Linked DNA regions of Homo sapiens: all the other regions are linked to region 3. The links are contacts of gene promoters, found by promoter capture Hi-C in human tissues and cell types (Jung and others, 2019). All regions are on one chromosome and are shown on one strand. Each heading gives the region's core, a stretch centred on a gene start or on the middle of the fragment in contact. The rest is flanking DNA. Distances are from core to core; before and after follow the strand shown.

Region 1 (4,539 bases), core at 1,819-4,318, 410 kb before region 3:
GCAAGCCTCTACCAAACAAACATATTTATTTCAAGATATCTTGGAATAAATTATGGCTAAATAGTTTAGAAATAAAGAACAAAAAAAGAATGAGCAGAAAATGTATTTCTCTTTTTCTTTATAAGCCATGTAGCTAACTCGAGTAAGGAGAAAAAATGTAGCTAATTAACTCAAGGAGAAAGTCCATACCTTAGTTCTGGCAATGAGTTAGAGCTGCTCAATAATTTGAAAGTTATATTTATGTTTTAGATTTTTATTTTACTGAGTATAGTTTTTCCTCCATATATGGTGATGCTTCATCTCCAAATAAAGACTTAAAAAGTAAAAGTCCATCTAATCAATTGTTACAGAGGTCCAAATATCCAACATATTTCTAAGGTGATAAAATTGGCTCATCATGATCCCGTCAATTACTCTGCAATATCTGCAAAAGCAATTAATTAGGTTCTTTATTAAGTGCAGGCTATCATAATGAATAAGCACATCATTTAATCTTTACACAATTTTTTGATGCCAGAAATACAGCAAATCTTCCCAAAAAGACTTCTAAAATTATAATGCAATCCACTATGAAAGCTTCCTAATCCTAAAGTTACTTTTAAGCATAGTTTTGTGCTACCAGCTGAGTTGCTGTTTTTTTTAGCTCTCTCTTATAAAATATTTCTTTTTTCCTGTTTCTGATCCTCTAGCTTGCTGGGCAGCCACATGCCTGGCAGGATTCTTTAGTCCTAAACTAATTGGCAAAAATCCTCCTGGGAAGATGGATTTCTAGCATTTTAACATCTCAGAGTACATCTGTGATCTTGCCTATGTAAGGGCTGCTGGACATAAGCAACTCAATGTTCAGTTTGTCAAATGATGCAATTAATATGAAACAAGATTTTTATTGTTATATTTTTCCTAGAGCCCTCCTGGTGTTTGCACATTAGTATCTGAGTGAATTTCATTATTTTTCTGAGTTTATTATTATATTCAGGACACTTAATCTTCTTTTTACATTCAAACTAGAATACCATTCGTTTATTTTTCAAGTTGGTCTCACGGAGATGATATACTCTCCAAGTCATATTAAATCCTACAGCAAGGGATAAAATTTGTTTTTCCCTAATTAATTCAATTTTCTTATGTATATTTGCTCTGTCTACATGTTTTTCTTTTCTTTTTCCTTCTTTTCATTCCATCCTTGGTGACATTTCTCTAAAAAGAAATTAGCCCACTCAAAGGAAAAATAAAATGTATATTCAAAATAAATGTGCTCCTACACTTAGGTATGAATGACCTCCTCCCTCATCTGTTCATATCATTGGTTAGCATGTAAATCATGCAAAACAGCTCACAGTTTTAAAGTGTCAATAAGTTCTTAAACATAAAGTATGATTACAGAATAATAATGCTCTCCAATCCCATATCACTTTAGACCGAGACCAAGACTGTCTGAGGGGCTTGAGCTAATGATCTCACTATTTTTTAATGTTCTCTTAGTTCTTATTGATTGTCCTTCTTGCCATTCATTATATATATTTTTTCCTTGCAGGTCAGGATTTTATATTCTACTTATAAAATATTTCAAGGTAAAATTTTATGTACTAATTAATTACAAGTTTGTATCTGGCATAAATATGACCTGCAACTTAGTTCATTATACCAAGTGCTCAACAAGTCAATGCTGCGAGATTTGGTAAGGTGCTCAAATTGATGTGTGTTCAGAAACAAAACAAATACTTATTGCATGAAACTTACCTATAGAACACTAATAATCCAGAAATGAAATCCTGAAACCCATTAAACTCTTATTATACAACAAATAAACTGCAATTTATTAACAAGTATCTCAAAATCTTCTCAGTTTATCTAGAGACTTTCACACTAGCTCAGTCTTCACATATCTTATTTTGTACACCATATTCATCTATGAAAATAATTGAAGATTACTATTTAAAATTAGTATTAATTTACACTCACATAACACAATTCAAATCCCCTTAGCTATACAGGAGAGTAAATGAATTTTGGAATTCAGACAGAAAGACTCCAAATAAGATATTGTCTTATTTCAAATGGAAAAACATGCCAAACTCATAGAACAGAAGAATTAATATTAATATGACCAAATTGCCCAAAACGATCTACATATTTAATGCAATTCTTATCAAATTACCAATATCATTCTCCACAGCATTAGAAAAAATAACCCTAAAATTAATGTGCAACCAAAACAGAGCCTGAATAGCCAAAGCAATCCTAAGTAAAAAGAATAAAGCCAGACGCTTTATAATACATGACTTCAAACTATACTAGAAGGCTATGGTAACCAAAACAGCATAGTACTGGTATAGAAATAGATACATAGATCAATGAAGCATAATAGAGATGCCAGAAATAAAGCTTCACACCCACAACCAAGTGATCTTTGACAAAATCGACAAAAACATACACTGGAGAAAGGATTCCAATTCAATAAACAGTGCTGAAAAAACTGGAGAGCCATATGCAGAACAATGAAACTGAACCCCTATCTCTTACCATAAAAAATAGCCCAAGATGGATTAAAGACTTAAATATGAGACCTGAAACTATAAAAATCCTAGTAGAAAACCTATTAAAAAAACTCTTCTGGACACTGGTCAAGGTAAAGAATTTATGAGTACATGCTCAAAAGAAAATGCAACCAAAACAAAAATAGACAAATGGGAATTAATTAATTGAAAAACTTTTGCACAGCAAAAGAAGTAATCTAAAAACAGGCAACCTACAAAGTGGGAGAGAATAATTGTAAATAATGAATTAGACAAAGAGCCAATATCCAGAATTTACAAGGAACTCAAACAACTCAACAAGAATAACACCAAATAACCCCATTAAAAAGCAGTCAGAAGACATGAACAGGTATCTTTCACAGGAAGATATACAAGCAGCCAACAAACATACGAAAGAATGCTCAACATCACTAATCCTCAGAGAAATTTAAATCAAAACCACAATGAGATACAATCTCATACCAGTCAGAATGGCTATTACTAAAAAGTCAAGAAACAATAGATGTTGGCAAGAATGCAGAGAAAAGGGAATTAGTATAAACTGTTGGTGGGACTATAAATGAGTACGACTTTTATGGAAAACAGTATGGAAATTTCTCATAGAACTAAAAATAGAAATACCCTTTGATCCAGCAACCACACTACCGGGTATCTACCCAAAGGAAAATATCATTATATCAAGAAGACACATAAACTCATATATTCATTGCAGCACTATTCACAATAGTAAAGTCATGAAATTAACCTAGGTGCCCATCAATAGTGAATTGCATAACGAAAATGTGGGACATACACACCATGGAATGCTACACAGCCATAAAAAGAATGAAACCATGTCTTTTGTAGCAACATAGATGGAACTAGAGACCATTTTCCTAGGTAAAATAATACAGAAGCAGAAAGTCAAAAACCATGTGTCCTCACTTATAAGTGGGAGATAAACAATGGGCACACATGGACATATAGAGTGAAATAAACAGACATCAGAAACTTTGAAAGGGAAGGGAAGAGGATTGAGGGATGAAACACTACCTATTGGCTACAACGTACACTGTTAGTCTGATGGGTGCACTAAAAGTCTGGACTTCACCACTATGCATGTAATATAACTACACTTGTACCCCTAAATCAATACAAATACAAAATTTTTAAAATTCTGTTTTAATTCATAAAGCTATCTTTAAAAATTAATTACTAGTTAGAACTACAGTGCTCTAGGGCTATAAGATAAATTTGGTTTCAAGATCATTTCTAAGAGTACATATATATATGTGTGTGTGTGTGTGTGTGTGTGTGTATATATTTACGTGTAATATGCACATGTAAGTGTATATTTGGCTAAATTAAAAAAGCTATTGTATTCCTACATTATAGGTCTATTGCATAACTACTTTTCAGAGATCGACTATAATATTCAGATGACATCACCATTTCTAGAATTAGCTTTACTATCTGAATAAGGGTTATAAGAAAGAAAGAAAAGAAATTTCTGTTTCGGAAATACAGCAATTTGCAGCGAAAAAGAGCCTACTGTTTGTTGTAATTTAGATATATCTGGAAGAGGCTAGTAAATATTGGATATTGCCTAAATGCAATTTTATTCAAAGTAATCTATCATGAAAAATGAAGAGATCATTTCACGATATGATTTTACTGTTGTGACTGTGAAGCAAACATTATAAATCATTTACCCTGGGCTTAGGTCATTAGAAAGAAGAACAAAATCATTGAACTACTGTTGCTTGAGATAACACTGTTTGAAATTAAAGGATAGCTAGTTCTTTCATTCTTGTCATTTTCAGGGAGCAATGCTATTTGAACAAAAAAACATTTTTTTAAACACTCTTCATGTGGCAAAGAACTACTATAATTTAAAAATTGCCACTCACTAATCTTCTGTGAGTATGATATCTTATATCCAATACCAAAGGCTGGCTGCCCAAGAATAACAAAAATCAACCTGTACTGTCTGGACATTCTGGCTGATATATTAGTTCATGAG
Region 2 (4,433 bases), core at 63-2,562, 330 kb before region 3:
CTTAACATCTCAGTTTTTTCATCTCTCATATTCCGATTTTAATGCCAGCCTGAGAAGATAGCTTTGAGAACAAAATAAAATAACACACATTAAAGAATTTTAAACAGAAAAAAAATGGTCCTATTAATTAGTCTGTGAAAGAAAGGACAGTAGTCAAGTTTTTAAAATTCTAGGTTATTCACAATTTATATTCAAATTAAGAAACCCCATAGTCATAGTCTGGGACCTTCAAAGCTTTACGAGCTCAATATTTTCCCAACTAATGTGACTGTGCCATTTTTCAAATGTGAGCATCTCGCTGCTTAGATATTCTATAGAGTAAAAATTTGGAAGATGATGTAGGCTATATTAAATTAAAACATATAGTGATACTGTTAAAGCTAATTTGAAGCAAAGTTAAATTTTAGTTAAGTTTGTTATTACAACTGGTCTTTACACTTATTGTTTAGAACAAAGGTGATGCCCAAACTGTTAATAATCAGATTTTAAACAAATAGAAAATTTTTATTTAAGGGATACTCTGATGCTATAATTTTCTATATCTTTATCATTATGAGTAGTTATAATGAATTTTCCTCATTTTGTCCTAAACAACAACAAACCCAAATTTTTCTAACAGGAAAAATATTAAATCAATTTTTTCTGTTTTTTTCTAATCTTTTTACATAATCTCTTAAAAAGGGGAAATATCCCTCTCCTGCCACCTCTCCAACACAAATTCTGATTTTTATGAAGGAGAATCTGTTCTACACACACTCTTGGCCTCTCTCTACTCCTTCACTATCTCTGCCACTCGGGAACACAGTGGTATATCTGACAAATGTGAGGAGGATAACCGTGCATGTTAAACTCAGCTCCACCCAGAACAAGCTGGCCCCCAAAAGTAGAAATTCCTCTCACCTTACTCCATCTTCCATGGGAAGGTGATCCACATGAAAAGCATATTTCCCCAACTGTTGGGTAAGTCAGCCCAGTCCTTGGGTGTGGATTTCAGACCCATTTGGCTCTTACAATAAATTACATCCTCGTACAGAGTCTCTATCAATAAGCAAGTTGATATTTTGGCCTGCAAATTTACTCTTTATTTGTGACATTGTGTAGAATGGATAGAAAAGAATGTTGCTATTATTGAGGGCTCACTTTTCAACTCCAACAATCTATGTTACAAATTCTTATCAAATCCTAAGGAAAAAAGAACACTCAAAACTGTCTACTTTCTTCACAGAACATGCCCACTGGTGAGATATACTTAGTGGAAAATGTTAGCTTCACACTGGTCTTATATTTTCAAGTTTAGCATTCAAGGTGCTTTGGACTAATTAAGAAAATTGTGAAAAATATATGTCAGCAAAGAGCTCATACAATCATTTTTCTCTATAGAAATAGCATCAGTTGGCTGGGTGTGGTGGCTCACGCCTGTAATCCCAGTACTTTGGGAGGCTGAGGTGGGTGGATCAAAAGGTCAGGAGTTCAAGACCAGCCTGGCCAAGAAGGTGAACCCCTGTCTCTACTAAAAATACAAAAAAAAAATTAGCCAGGCTTGGTGGCGCACGCCTGTAATCCCAGCTACTCGGGAGGCTGAGGCAGAGAATTGCTTGAACCCGGGAGGCAGAGGTTGCAGTAAGCTGAGATCATACCACTGCACTCCAGCCTGGGTGACAGAGTGAGACTCTGTCTCAAAAAAGAAAAAAGAAATAGCATCGGTCTGGGCCCCCCCAAATTATTTGTTCTTCATCTTATAATCAAGCTTAGATCCTTTATTTAAGTTTCCCAGTTAATGTTATGGCTTTCAGAGAATTATCAGCTTATTTTTATTCTGTGTCCAATCCCATGTATAAATATTACCCTTGCTTACCTATGATTATTAAAGCCCCTTTATTGGCTGTCCTTCCTAGTCTCACTTATCTACCTTTCAAATAAATTACTTGCATTCAAACTAGAAGGAGCATCTAAACCATAATACACCTCATTCTATCTACAGGCAAGATATTTTATTTCTTCAACTGGGCCACCAAAGCAATTTATCTTCTATATCATATCATGTTGGTATGATATGGTATAATATAATTATATCTCTCATGAGACAAATTGTTTTTACCTCCTACAATGTGGAATTTCTTTTAAAAAATTAGTTTGGTGTTCTCAGCACCTATTATGATGTCTAGAGCATTGTAGGGGCTCAATAATTGCTTTTTATGTAATTTTTTAAAAAAAATTGACTGCAATAATGAGCCTAATATTTAAAATATTATTTGATCTCCTCAAATACTGGTAATACTAACAGAGTGAGAAATCAGTAACACGCAGAAAAAGACAAATATATTTTGGGTAAGGTAAAGCTAAGCAGTGGTTGAAAAATGGAATATTAAGAAGAAATTATAACCATGCATTAGGCTTGCCAGTTGAATCTGTCGTATATCATGAACTAGTGGTTTTATACGAAAATCAATATGTTCTCTAAAATATGTCTTCCTATGCAATTTATTCACTCAAAATTTAAAAATTACTAAAAATAATAGTTTACCTGGTTTTCACAGCATTAAAGATGTCTACATTATTTCACACATCATGCCCTACTAATGTCACTATGCTATGTGCACATTCTTTTTCTTATGAATAGACAAATTTCTTTTCTCACATAAAGGTTTAAATAAGTTAATAGTAAAAAGATTTTTTTAAGTTCCCTAAAAAAATTAATCAACACTAATCCATGCTTATATGCCTATATTATAGGCATATAGGCATCTACATATTTAGGCAGATGCTAGAAGCAAATAGTCACCTTGAGGGAGAAACCCTCAAATCACAACTGTAGCTATGTCGAATCAAAACTGTAGCTATGTACCTCTGCCATTGTTTTGAGTTCTTGGTTAAATATTTAATCATGACCCCATAATTCAAAATAAGGGTATAATTGAAAAGTGAGTGCATTTTTAAATGTTAATATTCAAATGCTACTGTACAATGTTAATGTATCTAGGTCATCAGAGTGAAATATTTAATGTACATTATCTGAAATGAAATATTCATATCATCTTCAAATATAAATAAATGTTAGAGTTCTTAAATTTCTTTATATAGTTTTACCAACAAAAAATAAAATATATACTCAGAGATATATTAGCATATTTCCCAGACTACTAAAAAATTAGTACCAAAACTTCTGTTTAATTATGTCCAAAAATTAAGACCAAAATGAAAGCACAAAAGGAGCACCCAGTCTGGAATCAGACTGTCAATGTCTACTCTCTTAACTTCTATGAATCTCAGTTTCACTACCAATAAAACATGAGTGATTGCATCTATAGCTCTCACAGGTTTACTTCCAGGATTGAAATAGAGAATGTGTAAAGTGCCTAGGATAGTAATTGGGACCTAACGTGCATTCAATAAATGTTTCTATGGTTTCCATTTAGTTATCAAATTGGAAACTGATCACTCTTATATGCTATATAAGTACTTCTGTAGGACACTTGCAGAGGGTAGAAAAATAAAATAAATGCATTTGTCATTGAGGCTACTGATGAGAATATACCGACTCATTTTGCCAACCAGTCCTGGCATTTTATTTTTATCCTGTCTCATCTAAATCAATCCTTTCAAAAGAAGTTAAAATTGGTTTATTTTATAAAAGATATGATCCTTTCTAGATTAACATACATCATCCATTCCTAGCTCCAAAGGACATGAAACTCAGGCAAAGGCCACATTTCATTGATTAACACAGAAAAGGAAACTTAGTAGCTTAAATGTCTCTTAACATTCTTAAACATTTGCATATAATTATTTGATTTTCTATATAATTTAATGAAAGCATCAGAATAAAGGTGAAGTGTAAAGGTGATTTTTTAAAAATGGGTCTTCTACAACGAACAAAAAAACTCAGATTAGCCTTATCTTTTCTGATATATCAACTGGAGCCAGAAATGTAATTTCTGAAGACATGATGAGGCAGCCCTCTGGAGCATAAGCAATTCACGAAGAAACTGAAAGCTAAAGCCTATCTGCTGACAGCATTCTCAAAAGCTTGGGCTGGAAGTCTTTTACTGAAGGAGCATATGAGTGACAGAGCACGGCATCCACTATACTCAACTATATGCTGTCTATAAGAGACACAATGTAAAAATAAAGGCATGGGTAGCTAAATAGTAAAAGGATTTTTTGAGGTACACTATAAAAACACTAATCAAATAAAGATGAACTGGCTATATAACATTTTTAAATGATGTACTTAAGATTGAGGAATATTACCAAGAGTAAAGAAGAACATTTCATAACAAAAAGTCTTAATTTGTCAAGAGGATGTAACATCCTATTTGTGTATATGCCCATAATAAATCTTCAAACTACGTGAAGCCAAAAATATTCAGAAATGAGGGAAGAAATAGATAAAACTAATGTGGATAGTTTCAGATATTAATACTCTTCCCTTG
Region 3 (4,000 bases), core at 874-3,373:
CCAGCACGCAGCCTGCATTCTCCCGCGTCTCAAACTTCCTTGGCGGTGCCTTCTTTGAGTCTTTGTTCCTTCAGAAACATAGATCCACCTGACATCCACTTTACAGAGCAAGGAGCGCTCTCAGCAGCCTAGATGCAAATAAAATTAGACATCCCATGACTACGCGGGCAAGGTTAGGCTTGACAATCAAGCGGGGAAAGGGGGTCGTAGCGGGGAGTGGGGGACCAAAAAAAAAAGGGAGGGAGGGTACGAAAAATTGAAAAGCGAGTAAATCCAGCGCCTGAGACCAGCAAGCGCGCGGTCCGCAGCTGGGGAGGCGGGCGGGCGGACGAGAGGGAGGGTGAGGGGCTCCTTGCCCCCTGCGCTCCTCGGGTGCGAGTTCCCAGGCGGCGGAGCACACTGAGCCGCGTGCAGGCTGGTTCGGAGCCCAGGCTTCTCCGGCAGCGAGACCTGCCCTTGTGTTGGGTGGCCCGGCGGCTCGGACTAAAGGCGGCGGCTGGTTCTTCGCCAGCCCTGGCAGTGCTCACACACGTACACACCAGCAGAGAGAGATAGAGGGGAAAGATAAAGGGAGAGAGAGAGATTGAGCGAGGGGGGCGCGGTGAGAGGAAGAGGTAGGTAGAACTGACCGCGATTAGGTGCTAGGTACCTCAACACGTTCGGTGAAGTGGGGGTGGGGAAAGAGAATGCAATTTGCATACAGGAAAGCAGGGATCAGTTTACCCATTCGAACCCCTGGCGCACACAGAGATACCCACGAATGCTCACAGTCACATCTCTAGCACTACTTTTTTCGAGCCAAAGGGTACAGCCGGTCGCTAACTTCTAGAGAAGAAGCCTCCTCCGAGCTGTGAGGGTCACCTGCCAGGCTTGTTCTCTTTCCTAACCAGCGCCCCTCCCTGCCGTCCCTTCCTCGTGCCCACCACCCCGCTCCCAGGTGTACCCTCCGGGAACAGCGGAGGCAAAGGGTACGTACCGCACAGGACTTGGGGCGAATCCTGCGAGAAGGGACCGCTCTGGGCAGGCTCCATGGAGAAGCTACTCGGGCCTGGCGTCTCCAGCGCCCCGGACGTGCCCTCCCAGGCGCTCCGTCTCCATGCTCGAGCGCAGACGGGTCCGGCTGCCTCGTCCAGCTTTGGCGGAGTCGCCGTCCCAGTGCCCGGGTCGCGCTCAGGATTGGTTCGCGGGAGCCAAGGCTTGGCACAGTTGGATTCACGGTGCAGGAAACTTAAGAGGCAAGAGAGGGAGGGAGCAGTAGAGGAGGAAAGAGAGGAAGACAGAAAGGGAGGGAGAGCAAGAGGGAGGGAGAGAGGGGAATGCGCCGGGCTGCTGCACCGGACGGACTGGGACTGCCAGCGCTGGCACCCGGACGAACAGTCCAGGACTCTCGGCTTCCCACAGCTGCCTGAGGATGGTGGAAATGACTTAAGGGGAGGAGACTGAGCAAGTCCTCTGGACTTGAAGTGGAGAGATAAGACACTGGCCTTTCGGAAGAAAAGAGAACCACACGGCAGACGAGAGCAGTCCGAGTTTCTGAGGGAGGGGTGGGGTGGCGAGAATCTGGAGCCTGCGGCACACGGAGCAGCTGTACCTCTACCCGCGACGCTGGGAAGCCCAGGAGCCGGTCCCCAGTGGAGTCCCGGGCGCTGTCCCTGGTGCTGCCCGGCCACCCGGGGACGCTCTGGAGCGCTTTGGGTTTCCGGCGGCCGCGGTGGTCGTGGTTTCTCCGCAGAGCCGCGGCTTGGCACGCCTACCTTCCTGACACGGACAATTACTTTGGCACGTGGGTGAATGATTCCTCAAAGACTAATTAGTACCCTGTGTAAACAGATCCGGCTCTCAGGCTCTCGCGGGCTGGGCCCACAGGGACAAGTGGCTCCCGCGGTGTCTTCGGTGGCCGCAGCGCCCCCTTCCCGGGGGGCGTAGGGAAGATCGCAAAGCCCAGGGGAGTGGCGGGAAGAGCAGCCGGGAGTCGCGTAGGGCGGGGAAGGGCGCGGGAGGGTGCAGGGCGCCCCTGCCGGCCTCGAGCGCCGACGCCGGGCGCCTCCGACCTGTGGCTGCCGGGCCGGAGGCGGGGGAGCCGCAGACTGCCAGCCATTCAGCTCGAGACAGCCGAGAGGACTGGGCGACCTTGGCCTCTGGACTCCTCGCCGCCGGCTGGGCTGAGCGTGAAGGGGGAGGAGGAGGACGGGGGATGCTTCGAGCCGTCACCACCTCCCTCGCTACTGACACCTCCCACTCAACCAGCGTCTCCCAGACTCGGCCTCTGTGCTCCGACTCTGGCTGTCTCTGTCTTTCTCAGTCTCTCCCTTACTGTCCCTATTTCTCAGTATCTTTCTCACTCCCTCTCTCTCTCTGTCTCCTTCTTCTGTCATTCTTGTGGTCTGCGTCTCTGTCCCTCAGCATCTTTCTGCCTTTTTCTGCCTTTCTGTGTGTCTCACTCAGGATTTCTGACTCTAGGTCTCTGTATCTCTGTGCCTCTACCGTGTCCCTGCCATTCCCCCTCAAACCCTGTTTTGTTTTTTGTTTTTTTTCCTCCACCCTTCCAGTGCACCACCACCAGAGCAGTTTCACCAGTCTCGGGAGACAGCCAGGACCAGCTTCTTCTGGTGCTGGTGGGGTTGCCAGTGCTCCTTGAGCTTGCCCAAATTCAGGGCACAAATCGGAACCCGGAAGAGGGTATCTCTTCCCCAACCTTGCCCATTGCATCTCCAAGCCTGCCCTTCACCAGAGCCTCTCCTGGGGTGATGCACATATCCATATCAATCTGTAGGAATTGTATGGAAATTTATCTCAGGAACCTGAGTTAGTGACATCAAAATCGAATTGTGATATTTAATGAGTCTGGAATGTCCTTTCCTCAAGTGTGGCTGTGGACACTCTGGCAGGTCTGGGCCTAGATACAATGTACACTCTAGACAATAGGTCCCAGGCTGAATTCCCCTGGATGATGGAGACCACCCCTCAAACAAGGCAGTGACAATCAGCAGAGCCACCCAGTCCTGCAGCAGAGGCAAGAGGAGCCCCACTGAGACCTTCCCCTGGAATCAGATCTCCAAAGACCTCCAAATTAGATCCCCACTGTAGAACATACCTACCAGCACTTTGAGGTCTACACTCTCCCTTCCAGCTAAAAATAACTCTTTAAAGAGCAAGCTCTTCTAATCTTAAAAGTTGTACTCTGCTGCTGTGACCTCCTGGAATTCATTGGGGCATATGCAGAATAAAGCAGTGAAGCACACCTTCTAACTGTGTCTCTGAAAATCCACTTCAGAAAAAACGCACATGTACATATAGCATAATTACAATGTTTTCTTGACTATTTTCACTTACCAGCTATTTCATTTTCTTAAAAACTTTAAACTTTAAAGAAGAAAAATTAAAGTATTGGGGCACCCGTATCTGAGGCCAAATGGTCAAAGCAGGGGCAAAAAAAGCTTTGTCTAATTCCATCCTCTAGGATTCATAAGGCTATCCTAAAATTGATTCCTATTTGTACAGGAGCTCCCAGGCCTCCCAGACTGGAGTGTAGAGCTGGAGCAAATGTTGCCTGCCTCTATCTGGATTCCCAGCTACAATGCTGTCAGAGCTGAACTTCTGTCTGACCTTTGGGAAAATGAGAAAGAATCCGGCTAGCTTTGGAATATACCAAGTTCTTTTCTAAACCTTACTTTAAAAACATTCTGCTTCTAGTGCCATTTAGCCTTAAAAAAATACTGCTTGTGAAATAGAAAGATGATCAGAGACCTTAAAATGTCTGTCTGAATGGGACTGATTATTTAAGAAAAGCACCACAGGCACCTAGTAATGGGAACAGGTTTGACACTTTGTTCTATGACACAGGATGCCAAAGAGCTTTTTCTGTTAATGACCTGAGATCTTCTGCCCAGACATTCAACCTTCGCTGGATCCTATGAGATACTTGGCCTGTGATATAAAACAGTGGCGGATTGTCATTTTTCATATTTCACAGGGGTCTTCATCTCCTATAATACTCAAC
Region 4 (4,211 bases), core at 42-2,541, 360 kb before region 3:
AAAAACCACATGATCATCTCAATAGACACAGAAAAGACTTTTGAAAAATTTTAACATCCCTTAATATTAAAAACTACCTATAAACTGGGCATTGAAGTAATATACCTTAAAACAATAACAGCCATCTATGACAAATCCAAAGCCAACATCATACTGAATGGGCGAAGGCTTGAAGTATTCCCCTTGGGAAATGGTACAAGAAAATGATGCCCACTCTCACCTCTCCTATTCAACATAGTACTGGAAGTCCTAGCCAGAGCAATCAGGTAAGAGAAAGAAAGAAAAGGCATCCAAATAAAAAGTGAAGAAGTCAAACTATCTGTTTGCAGACGATATGATTCTATACCTAGAAAACCCCATAGTCTCTGCCGAAAAGCTCCTAGATCTGAAAAACAACTTCAGCAAAGCTTCAGTATACAAAATCAATGTAAGAATATCAGTAGCATTTCTATGCACCAACAAAGTACAAATTGAGACCCAAATCCTAGTCACAATAGCCCATTCACAAAATCCTATACACAATGAGAATGTAATCCTATTCACAATACCAAGAAAAGAATAAGATACCTAGTAGGAATATCACTAACCAGAGAGGTAAAATATCTCTATAACAAGTATTATAAAACACTGCTCAAATAAATCAGAGATGACACAAACAAATGCAAAAACATTCCATGCTTATGGGTAGAAAGAATCAATAATGTTAAAATGACCATACTATCCAAAGCAATTTATAGAATCAATGCTATTCCTACCAAACTACCAAAGATATTCTTCAAGTAATTAGTAAAAACTATTCTAACATTCATATAGAACTAAAATAGAGCCAAAATGGCCAAGGAAATCCTAAGAAAAAAGAACAAAGGTGAAGGCATCACATTACAAGACTTTAAAATACTATAAGGCTACAGTAACCAACACAGCATGGTACTGATACAAAAATGGACACATAGACAATAGAACAGAATAGACAACCCAGAAATAAAGCCACACATGTACAACCAACTGATCTTTGACAGAGTAAACAAGAATAAGCAATAGGAAAAGGATTCCTCATTGGCTAACCATATGAGGTATGGTTATGAAGAATGAAACTGGACCCCAACCTCTCACCATATACAAAAAAGAACTCAAAATTAGTTGAAGAATTAAATTTATAAACAAAAACTATAAAAATCCTAGAAAAAACCTGGGAAATATTCTTCTGGTCATTGGTGTAGGGAAATAATGTATGACTAAGTCCTCAAAAGGAAATTCAACAAAAATAAAAATTGACAATCAGGGTGGAATTAAACTAAAGACCTTCTGAACAGCAAAAGAAACTATGAACAGACAACCTACGGAATGGGAGAAAATATTTACAAACTATGCACCTGACAAAAGGAGTAACATCTGGAATCCACAAGGAAAATAAACAAATCAACAAGAATAAAAAAACAAATAGCCCCATTAAAAAGCAGGTAAAGAACATAAACTTCTCAAAAGAAGACATACAAGCAGCCAACAAATATATGAAAAAATACTCAACCTCACTAATCATCAGAGAAATGCAAATCAAAATCACAATGAGATACCATCTCATACCAGTCAGAATGGATATTATTAAAAAGTTTTAAAATAACAGATATTGGCAAGGCTGCAGAGGAAAGAAAATGCTTCTACATTGTTGGTGGGAATATAAATTTGTTCAGCCCCTGTGGAAAGTAGTTTGGAGAGTTCTTGAACTAAAAATAGAACTACCCATCAACTCAGCAATCTCATTATTGGGTATATACTCAAAATAATAGAAATGGGTCTACCATAAAGACATTTGCATGCATATGTTCATGGCAGCACTATTCATCATAGCAAAGATGTGGAATCAACCTAAGTGCCCACCAATGGTAGACTAGAAAAAGAAAATGTGGTATATATACACTATGGAATACTATGCAGCCATGCTAAAGTACAAGATCTTGTCCTCTGCAGCAACATGAATGGAGCTGGAGGCCATTTTTCTAAGGGAACTAATGCAGGAACAGAAAACTAAATACTCCATGTTCTTACCTATAAGTGGGAGCTAAACACTGAAAACACATGCACACAAAGGAGGAAACAAGAGACACCAGGTCCTACTTGAGGGTGGAGGATGGAAGAAGGGAGAAGAATAGGAAAACTGCCTATTGGGTATTATGCTTATTACCTGGGTGATGAACTAATCTGTACACCAAACCCTCATGACATGCAATTTACCCATATAACAAACCTGCACATGTACTCCTGAACCTAAGATAAAAGTTTAAAAGGAGAACATTTCTCATTTTAAGTTAAAAGCACATTTGTCTTAATTTTACCCTACCTCAGTAAAAATTATGTTGTATTTTCATTTTAAATTTTCAGTTGCTTTTGTGTATGCTTCCATAGTCCATACATATACATTTATATAGCATAAATAAAGTTGTGTTGTTAATGTTTACTTGCCAGTCTTCCCTACTAGACAGTAAGCCCATCGATAAATAGAGAGAACTCTCCTGTATATACTATCTCCCTAATACTCAATACAGTAGAAATTCAATAAATATACATTTAGATTTAAAGCTTTTACGCAGTGAAAGTCCTTCTCAAAATGAAATATTTTGATAAGCCAAATATTTTCAAATAATGTCTTTGTTTATTCAAATACTAATTGAGCATGGACAATTTCTTTGAGAAATGTGCTACAAAAGTTATTTGCTGTTGTTTTTTGGTTTTGTTTTGGTAGAAGTGATTTGAACATGCTCAATTGTCACTGCAAATAGTCCAGTAGATGGGGGTATTGGATGTAATTAAAAGGAAAAGGTAAGAAGACAAGCAATAGCCTACAGTTTCTGAGAAAACAGATGGAGTCACTTTAGTCTTGGCCAGGAGGACATGAAGGACCAGTTCTTCCACTGTAAGAGGGAGAGGACGATGGGTAGAAGTACAGCGACATTTGGGAATTGGTTATTCTTTTGTCTATTTCTCTTTTTTTCCCTCTATAAATAGAAAATAAGATAATACGCTGACATTGAGGAATTGAGTGGGAATGTATATATTAGACATCTGAGAAGAGTATAGAAACTTTGAAATATCAATGTGCATAGTGGGAAGATTGCCCAGAGGTACGAACCATGATTGCCAACAATACTAAGAGTTTGTCTGAAGTCATGTTATGATTTTTAGAAGAAAAAGTATGTTATATTATAATATTTTCTCAAAGACCTTTGTGCTACCTGGGCACCAGTACAAGTAAAGCAGACAGTTGGCTTCATCTAGGAATGGGATTCTGCCATAGAGATGTGACAAAAAGAAAGTGAAAAGGAATTTATGATAATAGTGACTTTATTGATGTAATATAACTTAAAGTTTAAACTGAATATAAGGGTTGCGAATAGAAGGGAAACATGATGAACTGGAAAATGAGTTGGCAGAATAGGAGGAGCCAAAAAGATCTATGGATGGGCATAATGAGAACTACTGAACAAGTATGCTGAAAATAGAGGAGAATTGGGTCAGGAAGTTAGATCCTTGAATTAGCAGTTACAGGATGGGGCACTTATAGGGGCAAGGCATGAAGAAGAAAGTAGGTTGTTAAGGTGAAGAGGAAAAGGAAGTCATTGGAAATAAGGAAGTCAATGAATTGACATGTGAAAGATAATGGTCCACCTTCCATATAGATTATAAATCACTCAAGATTATGAAACTGTTTTAGTTCAAAGGGAATGGGCCACTGAGCCTTATTCTGGTATTCATCTGTGCTTTAGTCATACCTCTGTGGAAACCTTGGCATCAAGGGCTTGAAAAAACATAGGTTTAATTTTGTAAATGGTCTTTTTTTAAATTTTTGGTGTTTTTTTATTTTTCTGCCAGTTTCAAACCAAAACAGATGTTCAACGGAGGGGGCATCATTTAGGGAAGATAGCTCCTGAGATGAGGCCATATGTCAAACCATAATTATATAAATCCTTTGAAAGCTAGTTTGAATATTTCCATTGCTGAGCCATTACTCCAACATCAGAATGGTAGTGCCTTCCCATCAGCTCTACTGCTACTTCACCCAAAGCTAGAAGCCGTGTGGACAAGAAGACCATTATCCTTCGCCCCTAGTTATAATCCTGGATCACCCACAGGGAAGACAATATGTTCCTGCAACTATCAACGCTCATCCTTACACACACACTAAAGTGGAGAAAAAAACTCCAGAAAGCTTTTTT
Region 5 (4,085 bases), core at 469-2,968, 310 kb before region 3:
TATTCCTTGGGAGAGGAGGATTATGCATAGGAATATATAACTTTTCTTAAGAAAAAAGCAATACATTTCCAATCTATCCTGACAATAAAGCCATTCCATTATGGAAAAATATTTACTCTCACATCAAAAGGATTATCCTTAGCAGCTCCAGAGTTAGTATTTTTCATTATAGTTATAAAACTAATAAAAACAACTACAGCTTTCCCACTCATTTTCTGAAGGTACTGCATTTCAAAAGATACTATTTTTCTGTAACACAGAGTAGCTATAATGTAAAATTTAAAACTAACATTAATCAGTAAAAATAGTACATACCTTTGGATTTGGGAGACTGTGTGTGTGTGTGTGCGTGAATAAAATCTAATTGATTAAACATCTGAATCTGCACTTGCCTAGTTACATAAGCATTGCCCTTATCACAGTTCCTACATTTATGCCTCAGTATAAAACAAATACATGTGTATCCTCTTCTCTGGCTTTTGCCTGGAATTATCTAGACAGTTTCCCATTGTTTGTGTGGCAAAAAGAATAAATACAGGAATGCATTTAGTAGTGGCTTAGTGCTTATATCTCAGCATCAGCAAAGGGCTGTATTGAGATGCTTTCATGATGCACTGGCTAATGAAGCAGTAACGAAATTATCCCAAAGAAGGAGGAAAAGAGGGATTTACAGCTCAATTTACCAGTAGCATAGGGGGAAATGAAAGTAAAACTTGTGGAAGTAGTGAATATGGTTTCAAGAAGGAAGAATCAATCTATTCAAAAAGTTGCTAAGACTCCTCTGACAGACAAACCTCTGATTTTCAGGTAGAATAAAAATTGTTTAGTTCTAAATTATGTTATCCACAGCTGTAGTAATTATGGGAGTGCACTCTGGAGTCAGACTGCCTGAATCCCAGTCCAGGTTCTGATCTTTAACAGCTGTGTGATGTGGGCAAGTTACTTAACTTGTTTAAGCTTCACTGTTTCTCTCTTCTAGGGAATAGAAGAATAATATCAATCTTCTTCACAGGGCTGTTGTGAGGATTAAATAGGGCACTCCATTCAAATTACTAAGGACAGTACCTGGAACACTGTTCAATAGTCGTCTTAGCTGTTGTCATCACCAGATATTTTTACCTCTGAATCTCACTACATAATATTTTATGTAAATTATTAATTTATAATCGGATTTAAGAGCATAAAGCATTCTTGAAAGAAAATCTCCCTTCAATATAACCACAAACATAAAGCAAACAATTAAAAAAAAAAGCATGCTGTGGGGGAAAGCGGGGGAGAAGAAAATGGGGAGAAAATGAGCATAAAGTTTTAGTTAATCAGGTTGAAATAAATTCTAGAGATCTGCTTTGCAACATTTGTACTTATAGTCAATATTGTATTTTACAGTTTAAAAATTTGTTAAGAGGGTAGAACTCACATTAAGTGCTCATACCACAATAAAATAATTTTTTAAATTTATATTAAGGATAGCATCAATATATATTGAACTCCAAACAATGTAACATGAATTGAAATGTTGAAAAGGAAAGAAAGCAAGCATATATTTTTGAAAGTGCTGCTGTGACTGCCTAAATATATGGCAAATAAAGTAAGTGATTGAACTCAAGTTAGCTAAAATTATGCTCATCCTTTGTTATTAAACAGCTTAGCTTCCAAATGCAATGAATTATTTGCCTTCAGTGATATAATGGGAAAGGCTTCAAGTGGTGCTGACAGTCAGGAAGCCTCTCTGGAACATCTCAGTGTGGGTAAAGAATCAAAGCAGGTTTCAGCTGTAATCATCATTAACACTGTCTTAAATATTCTTATTCCCTCAGTCCTTGCTTTTTACTTAGGAAGGGAGTAGGGCAATGTCTAAAAGAGAATATAAATCTGGAAAAAAACAGGAAGGTTCCTTAGCAAAGTCCCCAGAGCTGTTCAAGACTAACAACTCCAATTTCTTTTGTCTTATTAACAAAATAGCTGTATAGTGAGACTACAAGAATATTGAGTGGAATAAAGAAATGCAAACATCAATGGCACATGGTCCTGGCTCTCGAGAAGTTCACAGTCTACTGGAGGCATCAATTAAGCCATCACAGTGTGATGCAACCAGCACTATGTGTAACATTCCAGCAATCATAGTCAAAGTTGAAAGGTAGAGAAGGTATAACAGAAGAGATGATCCTTAGATGTGGTAGATAAAAGAGGCTTGGTACTTTAACAGCTAGTGCATGGGCCAGAGGAGTTCTTCCAAGAATAAAGAACAGGGCCGGGGACAGTAGCTCTCGCCTGAAATCCTAGCACTTTGGGAGGCCAAGGCAGGAGGATAAAGAGGTCAAGAGATCAGATCATCCTGGCCAACATGGTGACACCCTGTCTCTACTAAAAATACAAAAAAAAAAAAAAAAAAAAAATTAGCTGGGCGTGGTGGCACATGCCTGTAGTCCCAGCAACTAGGGAGGCAGAGGCAGGAGAATTGCTTGAATCAGGGAAACAGAGGTTGCAGTGAGCCAAGATTGCACCACTGCACTCCAGCCTGGCGACAGAGCAAGACTCTGTTTCGGGGCAGACAGTGCCAAAGCACAGAGCAGAGAAAGGACGTGTCAAATGTAAGAATGAAAAAAAAACTTATTATTCTCTAACTAAAATTTTACATTCATAGACAAACATCTCTCTACTCCACCCACCCCCACCCCCCAGGTATCCACCATTTTACTCTGTTTTTATGAGTTCAACTTTTTTACACTCCACATTTAAGTGAGACCATGCTAAGAGAGTAGATTTTAAGCATTCTCACCATACACAAAAAACAAGTATGTGAGATAATGCATATGGTAAATAGCTTGATTTAGCCATTCCACAATGTATACATATCTCATAGCCTTATACTGTACACCATAATTATACACAATTTTCACTTGTCAATAAAGAAAGGGGAAAAAAAGAAAATAGCTTCTTACTGCTGAACGCCAGGGAGCATTACTTTAGAGGAGAAATAGAAGAGCTTGCCAAAAACTTGTAGAAGGCAGGCTACGGCCAAATCGTAAAGGTGCTGCTAAGGCATTTAAACTTAATCTTACAGGAAATAGGGAGTCACTACATTTCATTTTGTTTTCTTTTTAAGTAGGTCATCCTGGCTCTAGAAGAATCGCTGAGTAGATATTAAAGGGTGGTTTAATAGAGACCTTGAAGGAAGGGAGACTAATTAAATAACTAATTGCAATATTTCATTTGAAAAAGAAGTGAACCTGAACCAAAACAGTAGCAGAGAAAAAGAGGAAGAAATGATGGATCTAAGGGATAATTCAGACGTAGGATTAACTAAGCTTGATGATTCTTGGCTAAATAGAAACATAAAAAAGGTTGAGAAAGCTTGCTTGCATCTGCAAGGAAAACAGTGGTAACAAGTTGGCTGGAAAATAAAATTAAAACTCATAGAAATATTGGGAGATTAAGCGCCTGTGGGAAGTCATTCTGGTGATGCCATCCACTAGGAAACTGGGAACAAGGATCTGAAGGTCTGGAGACATGAGAGGGATGGTGATGTTGATTTTGTAGTATGAGTAGATGGTATTGTGCAAGAAACGTGTGGTAATAAAGAAGTATGCTAAGAATATCTTTAAAAATGTTAGCACTTTGAGGACAGGCAGAAGAGGAGCCAGTTGATCATCAGAAGTGGTAAGGACTATAGCATAAAGATGATTACCAAAAAACAAACAAACAAACAAAAAACCAAAGCATATGGACCTTTTTCTATAAATATTTTCTATAATATTATAATGAAAACACCAAATATACTTCCTGAGGATAATTTTCCATGTCAAAAGTGGCCAATGCCCATTACCAAAGGAGCTGGCTCTCTAGTTCAATGATACCATTTCCACAAATTTGATGTGTCTCATTGTTTCAGAAACATTCAGACATAAAGATTATTAACATAAGTGTATGCATTTTTAAATATATGATTCTTTTGAGACTATATACAAATAGGGGCATAGACAAGGGTCATTTTCTTCAACATTAAACAAAGACCAAGCTTAGATCTAACATCAAAGGAGCATACCTAGGACAGAAACTGAGTTTGGGGCTAGAGAGAAAAAACC

What was found. Contacts are between HindIII fragments. The study calls those that stand out against the background at their distance.
Region 1: a fragment that was not itself captured here is called in contact with the fragment with the promoter of NXPH1 in region 3 in 1 of the 25 tissues and cell types used here (neural progenitor cells).
Region 2: a fragment that was not itself captured here is called in contact with the fragment with the promoter of NXPH1 in region 3 in 3 of the 25 tissues and cell types used here (H1 embryonic stem cells, adrenal gland and hippocampus).
Region 4: a contact is called between a fragment that was not itself captured here and the fragment with the promoter of NXPH1 in region 3, in 1 of the 25 tissues and cell types used here (lymphoblastoid cells).
Region 5: a contact is called between a fragment that was not itself captured here and the fragment with the promoter of NXPH1 in region 3, in 2 of the 25 tissues and cell types used here (H1 embryonic stem cells and bladder).

The regions. Positions count from the first base shown.
Region 1 is chr7:8,837,583-8,842,121 of GRCh38, reverse strand. No RefSeq gene overlaps it. Among named protein-coding and RNA genes, the nearest start is that of NXPH1, 410 kb to the right of the region's middle. The HindIII fragment of the contact is 3,174 bases long and covers 1,482-4,539 here.
Region 2 is chr7:8,765,138-8,769,570 of GRCh38, reverse strand. No RefSeq gene overlaps it. Among named protein-coding and RNA genes, the nearest start is that of NXPH1, 330 kb to the right of the region's middle. The HindIII fragment of the contact is 3,150 bases long and covers 1-2,887 here.
Region 3 is chr7:8,431,732-8,435,731 of GRCh38, reverse strand. NXPH1 (neurexophilin 1) reads right to left here and starts at 2,123. Exons shown (of 3, transcript NM_152745.3): 1 at 977-2,123; 2 at 1-128. The coding sequence starts at 18. RefSeq lists enhancers at 1-463, 464-1,011, 1,012-1,559. The HindIII fragment of the contact is 8,604 bases long and covers 1-4,000 here.
Region 4 is chr7:8,786,203-8,790,413 of GRCh38, reverse strand. No RefSeq gene overlaps it. Among named protein-coding and RNA genes, the nearest start is that of NXPH1, 350 kb to the right of the region's middle. The HindIII fragment of the contact is 4,201 bases long and covers 1-3,391 here.
Region 5 is chr7:8,744,031-8,748,115 of GRCh38, reverse strand. The region is part of intron 2 of NXPH1 (neurexophilin 1); the gene reads right to left. Among named protein-coding and RNA genes, the nearest start is that of NXPH1, 310 kb to the right of the region's middle. RefSeq lists an enhancer at 3,755-4,085. The HindIII fragment of the contact is 3,936 bases long and covers 1-3,686 here.